Regions from separate parts of the Homo sapiens genome. Here region 2 is linked to region 1. Evidence: promoter capture Hi-C in 16 types of primary human blood cells and fetal thymus (Javierre and others, 2016). All regions are on one chromosome and are shown on one strand. The core of a region is centred on a gene start or on the middle of the fragment in contact, and the rest is flanking DNA. Distances in the headings are between cores, read along the strand shown.

Region 1 (4,796 bases), core at 1,683-4,182:
TGTCTCTACGAAAGTACAAAACTTAGCTGGGCATTAGCCAGGCATGGTGGCTTACACCTGTAATCCCAGTACTTTGGGAGGCCGAGGCAGGCAGATCATGAGGTCGGGAGATCGAGACCATCCTGGCCAACATGGTGAAACCCCATCTCTACTAAAATACAAAAATTAGCTGAGTGTGGTGGGGCACGCCTGTAGTCCCAGCTACTCGGGAGGCTGAGGCAGGGGAATTGCTTGAACCCGGGAGGAAGAGATTGCAGTGAGCCAATATCACACCACTGCACTCCAGCCTGGTGACAGAATGAGACTGTCTCAAAAAAAAAAAAAAAAAAAAAAAAATTAGCTGGGCGTGGTGGCACACTCCTGTCATCCCAGCTACTCGGGAGGCTGAGACAGCAGAATCGCTGAACCCGGGAGGTGAAGGTTGCAGTGAGCCAAGATCGCATCACTGCACTCCAGCCTGGGCAACGAAGCAAGGCTCCATCTCAAAAAAAAAAAAAAGGACTGTCCCACCCTAAATATCTACATATTCTCCCCTGCCCCAGGCTTGATTTTCATAAAAAGGAAACATCTTGCTACAAAAAAAACTAATCTTAAAATAGATCCTCAGGCCCTCCAGCTGCAGCATAATCCTAGTGCTAAATCAGAATATATATTTTTTTAAAAAAAAAAAACCTATTCTGACAGGTCAAATGCAAATTTTAAAATATATTTGAATACATTGAATACACGTCCTCCAGCTAGAGGAAACAGGAAGATGACATCCTCTTTGCTGAGAACATGGTTTTATTACCTAGCAATAGGACAACAACTTCAGAAGCAACTGAACCTCTGGTCTAATTATTGCCTGATAGAACAACTTATTAATATCATCAGCAACATTTTTTTGTTTTGGGAAGATATTCTCCATTGATGGTGTTAAAACAGAACAAATCAAGCAATTTCAGCCAATAGAACAATCACCCTACCACCTAGAGGTATATTTTGCTAACTCAAATTTGCAGACCAGCAGTGTGTGGTCCTACTTAAAACTAGAGATTGCACAAGAGCCAAACAGAGGTTCTTTTATGATCAAGGTGGCTGACTGGTAACAGCTGGACTAAAACCTTTCAGTTCTAAATCATCTCTTTCATGCTAGATGGAGTGGAATTCTGGGGTCCCAGCCAAGTCCTTGAGCAAGAACTTGAATGGATTCACAGCTCCTTTTCTGATGGAAACGTTGGCTAAACCCTGAGGAACTCTGGATCTCACCACGATGTCAAATAGAATGATGTCCCTGCTGGGGGAGGAGGCAAGTCAGGCTTCTCCATTGTCCCTTCTAAACAGCAGCTCACACTTGTCACATCCACAGCAGAGATGCAACTCTTCAGTTTTAAACTCAGGATGTCCTCACTGTCTCTTGCCGGATAAGGCAACTTTGAATTCACTACCTTCTAGCACTTAGCCCAAAGTTTTGTAGGGACATAGGACACGCAAGAGAAGCAGATCAATGGATATGTTGGCTAGTCATTACTTTAATCTCTTTACACTAAATCCTTTTTTTTTTTTTTTTTTTTTTTTTTGAGACAGAGTCTCACTCTATTGCCCAGGCTGGAGTGCAATGGCACAATCTTGGCACACTGCAACCTCTGCCACCGGGGGTCAAGCGATCCTCCTGCCTCAGCCTCCCAAGTAGCTGGGATTACAGGCATGCGCCACCATGCCTGGCTAATTTTTGTATTTTTAGTAGAGACAGGGTTTCACCATTTGGTCAAGCTGGTCTTGAACTCCTGACCTCAGGTGATCCGCGTGTCTTGGCCTCCCAAAGTGCTGGGATTACAGGTGCGAGCCACCATGCCTGGCCTACACTAGATCTTTATTAAATTAAATAATCAAATATCAACATAGTTATGCTGTATTTTCTCAACTCCCTGCTGAAATTATTTTACAAAGTTAAGATTTAATTCCTCTCTATTGAGGGCTGATGTTTAGTGTCATTTTGTTTTGAATGAGCAGCAACCTATTCTTGGCCTGGACTGGGGCTGGCCATGTGACCCGAGACTTAGGCAGGACATGGAGGTGGGTGGGCAGGACCCAAGGCCAGGCATGGGAGTTTGCTGGGGTCAGTGAGCCTGCAAGCCAACCCACAGACAGGCTAAAGACTCATGAATCCGGTTAGATGTGTCAAATATAGCTGGAGAATCAAGAAACAGGTGGAGACCAGAGAAATCAGAGGAGAAGAAACCAATTTAAAGCAAAGGTAGAAGCAAGTGTTTGTAGAAACCCCTTGAACCACTGGCATAGCTCCAGGCATGTCTAGGCATAGCCTGGGCTATAGGCAGAGATGAGGTGGTTAGGATGGTATCTTAGTATCATCTTGCTGAGAAAGCCAGCAGAAGAAACATCTATAAGCACGCTTCTGAGGCTTTTTCAAAATGACCATTGAAGATCTTGTTCCTTATGTTATTCAGTGCTTTTTATATATTCCACTCCGTTAATTCCTTTTAGAAGATAATAAGAAGTATGTGATTCAATGTACTTACCTTTTTACCTTTGCTGCCAGGAAACTCAAGCTAAAGTTGAGGCACAACCTCAGTAACTTGCTCATTCTGGATGTCTTTTCATACTTTTAACTTATTGTTTTCTTCTTTTTTTCTATTTTAGATTACCCTTAATTTTCTAGTTTACCCTCATATTCCATGTAAATATGTGCACATATTTTGTGCCTTTGCCAAGCAGCATGGAATCCTATAACCTTCTCTTCTGTGTGTGTTACTTTCTGTAAGGGAAACCAACACAATGGAAACGTAGCCCATTGAGAGTAAAAAATAGAACAAAGTATGCTACTTCCCTTCTCTTGGCAGAACGCATTGTCCCAACAGGTGTATCAAAAATGCTTCAAGGTAAGCCAAGACATGGGAACATTGTGCTCTGAGCAAGGTGGTTCTTTTTTCCCAGAAGGGAATGAATTCATTTGGAATGTTAGGCCCTGACAGAACAGAGCCACTCCATTCCACTCCATTGTGTCCTGGGAGTACACAGGGACTTGGTGCAGCCCCTAGAGGCAGTGGCAGTTTACAGGCATTCCTGGGAAGAACAGAGGGGGTCCCGTTGGAGGAAAGCAGGTGCACACTGTCCTGAATCTCCGCGCCTGATGCCCACCTTCATACAAGCTGCAGCTATGCCTGGGGGATGACAGTTCTGCAGAGTCCAAACTCACAAGGATAAGGGCTGGAAAAGAGGCTTTGCTGGTTTTCTGTTCCCACCAGGATGTTGGAAGCCTCCTTTTTGTCCTTTTCACTCTACGCTTCTTTTTTCTTTTCCTTTCTAAATGTTGCTGTCAGTGTACTCAGCTGAATGCTATCAGATACACAAATAACAATAGCTTCCTGGGAACGATTTGCTGCTGTGGGTCATGGGCCAGTGCCAAGAAGCCCAGGCACGCCAAGCACAGTGTTTTAGGAAAACCGCGGCTTTCAGAGAGCAGCTTCAGGATAATTGTTCAATTCCATTAGGGATTCTGGCTCCGAATGCACCTCGGAACCTGGCCCCAGTGTCTCCTCCAGGGGAACTTAGAGGTCCCCCACTCCATACCTTGGCTGGCTTTCTTTTTGATTTGTTTAATTTTCAAGAACCATCATTACTGGAATCTCGTATCTGATTGCGGTGTTCATGGAAAGAAAAATGGGAACAAGGGCTGAGAGACAGTGAGGCTTCCAGGGTGATCAGGTTGACTCGCAGAGGGAGAAATAACAGATTCCCAAATGCGGATTCTGGCACTTACACGTTTCTGAGTTTCCGATCTGGAGATCGGAGAGGTCACCGTCCTAGGGCTTGTCAGCCTCGCCAGCCTGCTGGGGCTCCCATTGTTCTGCTCAGAGTCCGGGAAGCAGATCCTGCTCCCTGATGACAGCTTCAGGCCGAGATGTTCCTGCAATGGAAGGTTTCCCGGGCAGGCTTTGCTTCCATCCTGGAGAGAGTTAACCAGGTCAGCCAGGGTCAAGGAGCAGATATCAAGTTACATATTTTCCTCCCTCATTTCCTAGCACACTCCCAGACATGCTCCACAAGGAAGGCCAGGAAGGAAGCATACCCGCCCAACAGACAAGACAGGCCAGGACCCTGGAAAGAAGAGGAAGGCACGTCTCTGGGCCTTCTCAGTCCTTACTTCCTCCTCCCTCCTTGTCCCACATTCCCCTCTGGATGGGTCTCACTCTCCAAGAAAATGGCCAGGAGCAAATCCAGGCAGAGAGGGAAGTTACTGAGACCCAGAAGCACAGCCAAGAATAGAAAGTACCTTTAATGAGCTCTTTCTATGTGCTTAATCTATGCAGCTGTTTTCTCCTCTGATCCTCAGAGCAGCCCTTTGAGGTTGGCTCTTATTCCTAACCCCACTTTCTAGAATAGGAAAACAGAGAATAGAGAGAGATTAAGTCATTTGTCCAGGGTTACGCAGCCAGCAGTGGCAGATCCAGGGTTTGAACCCAGGTAGTCTGACTTCAGAAAACTCTCCAGAGCGAATCTAAATGGGGGTCTAACCTAGAGTGAGACCCTTGGAATCCAAGCTGCTGAGAAAAGTGTCCCTTTAGAAAGGAACTCTAGGTCTGGTTGCCAGATTCAGCAAATGAAAATACAGGATGCCCAGTTACATCAAATTTCAATAAACAATGAATCATTCTTTCATCTAAGCATGTTCCATGGAGTTTGTCTGAAATTCAAATGTAACTGGGTGTCCTGTATTTTATCTGGCAACTCTTAACTATAGGGCCACTCCCATCTCTCTGCCCTCTGTCTTGTCTTCCTCTCATCATCAATAGGCT
Region 2 (4,796 bases), core at 1,417-3,916, 340 kb after region 1:
AATGCAAATTCTCGGGCTTACCTGTAACACAAAAAAAATCCAAAACTCTGGGGGTGAGCCCAGCAGGCTGCATTCTGATAAGCCCTCCAGGTGATGCTGACCCACACTCAAGTTTTGACAACCACTGAACGATCCCCTGCTGCCTCTGATTCCTTTTAAAATAAGAGAAACTGGAGCCCCAGCTCGGTGTTCCTGTGTCTGCTCCTACTTCTTGGGCTGTCTGTTGGACAGTAGCTGCCCCTTTGTCCTTTAGATCATTAACACTCACCCACCCACACCCCAGCTCTCACCTGTTTGGCCAGGCAGCCTCTGCAAGGTTTGGGGTCTAAGATTAACTCATAAAAGAATGACACATCTTTCATATATGTAATACATACCTCCAGTGACTAAACAAGAAACTTCAGATTGCAAGATCCCTCTCTAGATCTTCCAACTTTTCTGAATCATGCCCAGTCTCACCTGATCCAAATATATGATTGATTGTATTATTTGGCTGTCAACAGGCTCCGAAATGTACAAGCCCTCCTCAGGGTCCTATGCACTTAAGATGGTCTTGAAACCTGCCTATTTCACCACCTACAACTAGTGAGGACTCAAGCCAAATTTGAAAAACAGCAATTTTGGTTCTTGGCATAAACTGTTTGCTATGATGTGATACAAAATGAGGCCATGGGTAAAAGAGGGCCCGTCCCTCCTAACAAACTAGGTATTTTGACTCAATTATGGGGACTGAAAGTACTGCATGACTTGTATGATCTGTTGCTAACTCAGGTGTCTAATCAGCAAGCCTTTCGGATATATTAATAAGCTACTAATCGTGTCTGTGTCTGTGTCAGTGTCTCTCTGTAACATGACCTCTCTTCTCTTCCTCCTCCTGCTTTCCTTTGTTCAGAGAAGCAACAGAAAACTCACCCATTCTGGATGGGTCTGAGTCTCCACCTCACCAAAGTACTGATGAATAGAGGTACCGTAAGGGGAGTTTTGTTCCTACTGCCCATGAGTCTGTGGTCCCACATGTGTTGCTTTTGTCCATGTCATCATTTCCACAAGGATACATCTGAATGCTGTATTTATGCCTTATTTCTAGATACATGGGGAACTGGAACTATGTTTTTAGCTGAAGGTTCTTACATCAAAATTATGATATTCCTAACACTGCTTCCCAGAAAAGACCCCCAGAGTATGTTTTGTTTTGAGACAGAGTCTTGTTCTGTTGCCCAGGCTGGAGTGCAGTGGCATGATCTCGGCTCACTGCAACCTCTGCCTCCCAGGTTCAAGCGATTCTCCTGGCTCCCTAGTAGCTACAGGTGCATGCGTGGCTAATTTTTGTATTTTTAGTAGACACGGGGTTTTGCCATGTTGGCCAGGATAGTCTCAAACTCCTGACTTTAAGCTTTAAGTGATCTGTGCGCCTGGCCCCAAAGTATATTTTAGACTCACCATGTTCTATCTACATTCAAAGATTTGTAGACATTTTACTGTGAGTAATCAGTGTCCCTGAAAAGAACAGCATCACTGCAATGTAAGTTTCAAAGCACCAAGGGCCGACTCAGTGGCTCCAGAAGCACCCCCAGCATTCTTGAGTAACAGCTGTGCTGAGTACCAAAAGCTATGAGCACTGCTTTTCCAAATGTCCATAAGCCAACATTTTTATCACTACCACCATCACCTGGGAGCTCGTTAGAAAGCTAGTCTCCCGGGCACCACCCTGGCCTACTGAACCTAATGTGCATTTAACAAGATTCACGTCGAAATCTGCAAAGCACAGGGGCAGATAACAGTACCACCTGGTCTGGTTCCTAGCCCCAGGACCCTTACAGTCTAACTGGGACACAAGGGCTTGAAATCAAATTGCCTATCAGAAGATATACAAGGAGCATGAGAAACTGCTACACTTATGTATTAAGTGCTCTAAGACTTAGAAACAAAATGCAATGCTGAGAGGATTCAGAAATGAGGGGGTCACTTTCGAGTTCACGGAGATGTTATGTGAGCCTGGCTCAGAAGCCTGCCGTGGGAGGAGGGGGCTTAGACAGGTGGAGACAGAGACCATCCCAAGTGCAAAAACATGGATGCACAGATAAGGGTGAGGGGTGGTTAACAGTAGAGAGTCTTGTTTCCTGTAGAGAAAAAACTGGACTTTTGAAAAGTAAGTTAGGACAATATTGCAAAGTTGACAGATGGGCAATTAGGACAGGGACTTAGGCTTTGGAAGGAAGGTAGACCCCCTCCCCCAGCCCCAGTGCCAGGGTGATGTCATGAGAGCAGTATTTTTGAAGTAGGAAGAATGGCCTTTTTCTCCCCCGGTATGGGAGGGCGATCATCTGCTAAAGGTGATGGAGATAGGGCTGACAGCCAGAAGTAGAATTAACCAGGTTTGAAAGAGCTGCGGTGGGAATGTAGGCACTGCTTGAAATACCTACATACATACACGAATACATACACGAGTTCATGCTCATGCATACATGTGCACATGCAGGGACACACATACATTATACTGAGCAACAGCACCTTCCCAGACCAGGTAAGACAGGATGCCTCTAGAGGGCCTCATCCCCTATCCTCTGGCCTTGTGACCAACTGTGGGACTGTTCAACAACCCCAGTATGTGCCACCAGTTGGTTCTGTAAGTTAGTTATACGTTTAAAAAAATAATTCAGTTTGAAATTCCTCCCTCCCAGCAGCCCCACCTCCCTATGCCAAGCAGTTATAAACCACAAAACCCTGTGAGATGTGGGTGAATTTGCCATCTGTCTGGTATCAGACGGCCCTGGCTTAGCCAGTACCCTTTGCAGGCCACACATCTCTGAGCATAGCCCTGGGAAAGGGCATTCTTGCAGTGGAAAGCCCCCACAGATTCTGAAGTCACCACTTGCTGTGACCCAGACTGCCCAGGGCTAAGCTGCTCTTCTGGGTCACAGTTGAGAGAGCACACCTAGATCTTCATCCTGCCCCAGCTCATGTTCCAGTGAATGACTGACTTAGGTTTTTAGGTTTTTACTAGGGCAACTATTTAGTGGCCCCATTTGTATTATTTGTGAAGAATAAATGCTTCCTAAGGGTCTCTTTCGTAGCACATGGCATTCCTTGACTACTACCGGAAAATTGAATTTGTACTGAAAGGCAAAGGCTTAGCTGAGCAGCCAGAACAAGGGTCTCTTCCCCAGACTTGAGAATAAAAGACCAATACATGAAGCAACATTTATAGCTTTAAAAATACCTTACGTACTTCAATAACTATGTGGAAGCACTAAGAAAGATTCTGTATAAAACATCGCAAGTTTGGAAAAAATACATCTTTACATCTTTTCCTCCAGCTTCATTTTCTCAGAGGCAGGAGCAGGCCAGTGGTTTCCATACTGCGGCTCCTCTAGGAGCCACCTGAGAACCAAACCACCAATCCAGCATCTCCCACCCCATCATCCAGATCCTCCCGATGCCCTCTCATATGTGGGTTCTGTGACCCAGAAGCCTCCATAATGAACCACAGGAGAACACCATGGGCCAGCCAACAGTTAGGCTCTTCACATACCAAATAAACCACCACAGGAACCCTTAACCTCATCTACTGCCTGATCCAAACATCACTGCTTTGAACTCAATGGTCTTTCTTGAGCCTTTATGATCAATACATAGTGCACTTTTAGTCCCTCTGAAGCAGATTATGTTGTCACAATTATGACTCAACTTTAATAGTTTCAACCAGAAACTGTTTAGGATCCAACATACAAGAGAGTCAACTACATTTCATAATATTAGCCCATTTAAGAGTATTTTTCAAAGTGTGTTCTGTGGATGTTAATAGGTGATACTGTTCCAGAAGTTCTGTGGCAAACTAATCCAGGACTTCTCAGAACCTTTAATATATGTTTCATATACATTTACATTTCAGGCCTCTGAAAGGCAGAATCCTCAAATTTATTTATCCATGGAAGCTTTTTTTCCCCTCAGAGCAACTCACAGGACTACTTTGGGAAACACTGGCTAAGTGTTCCTAAGATCTCATGAAACCCCTTAGGGAAGTTTTATCCCAAACAGACCCAGATCATGTTTGTGTTAGAAACAAAAATTTCATCAACAGTTTAAGAAACTACTTACATGTGCCAGTATTCGTTAGTTACATATGAAAAACTCAGTTCAACAAGCGTAAGCAAACAAAAGCGTGTACCAGCCGATGTCACTGGAGCCCGGGCTGGCTGGGTCTCCTTCCATCTCTAGCTCTGCTTCCTCCTCCTGTTAACCTAGTTCTCAGGAGGAAATGACATCCTTGTGGTTTCAAAGCTGCTCAGGCACGTGGCCACCTTTGAACCAGGGATTTTGATCGGGGGACTCTCATTGGCCCGGCCCCGTTGGGTTCCTTGTCCCCTGGCCCCCACGGGAGTGAGGATGGCGCCATGGTGGAGAGCACCACCAGGACCACGTGGAGTTAGGGAGAGACTGTCCCCCTAAGAAAAACATAGGACCCCTGCAAGGCCCAACCACCTCTCCCATTAGAAGTTTTTCAGTCAGGCACAATGTCAAAAGTCAGCTTAGGGTGGAGACAAAGTTTGCAGGACAGGTGTCCCAGAATCATCCACATACCACCTACATATAGTAATACCCATGGCCAGTGTCATAATCAAGGGCCTTTTCTTACTTTGCTTCTGAAGCTGGTTTATTTCTGGTGCTCCAAACACAGGACTCTCATTAAAATCCACCAGTATATGCACAGATGCCTTGTGATTTTCCAGCTTTCATGGATTTTAAGGCCAGATGAGAAACATTTACAACATCCAGTTGTTCCTAGAGAGGTTAGC

What was found. Contacts are between HindIII fragments. The CHiCAGO score rates a contact against its expected background, and 5 or more counts as called.
Region 2: a contact is called between a fragment that was not itself captured here and the fragment with the promoter of FRMD4A-AS2 in region 1, in 2 of 17 cell types (total B cells and M0 macrophages). The highest score is 5.5, in total B cells.

What each region holds. Positions count from the first base shown.
Region 1 is chr10:13,989,716-13,994,511 of GRCh38, reverse strand. It overlaps FRMD4A-AS2 (FRMD4A antisense RNA 2), which reads right to left and starts at 2,932. Exons shown (of 3, transcript NR_199003.1): 1 at 2,520-2,932. The region is part of intron 2 of FRMD4A (FERM domain containing 4A); the gene reads left to right. The HindIII fragment of the contact is 11,405 bases long and covers 1-4,796 here.
Region 2 is chr10:13,648,071-13,652,866 of GRCh38, reverse strand. It overlaps FRMD4A (FERM domain containing 4A), which reads left to right. Exons shown (of 25, transcript NM_018027.5): 24 at 893-964. The coding sequence ends at 962. It also overlaps a transcript of PRPF18 not described here. Among named protein-coding and RNA genes, the nearest start is that of PRPF18, 64 kb to the right of the region's middle. The HindIII fragment of the contact is 2,542 bases long and covers 1,396-3,937 here.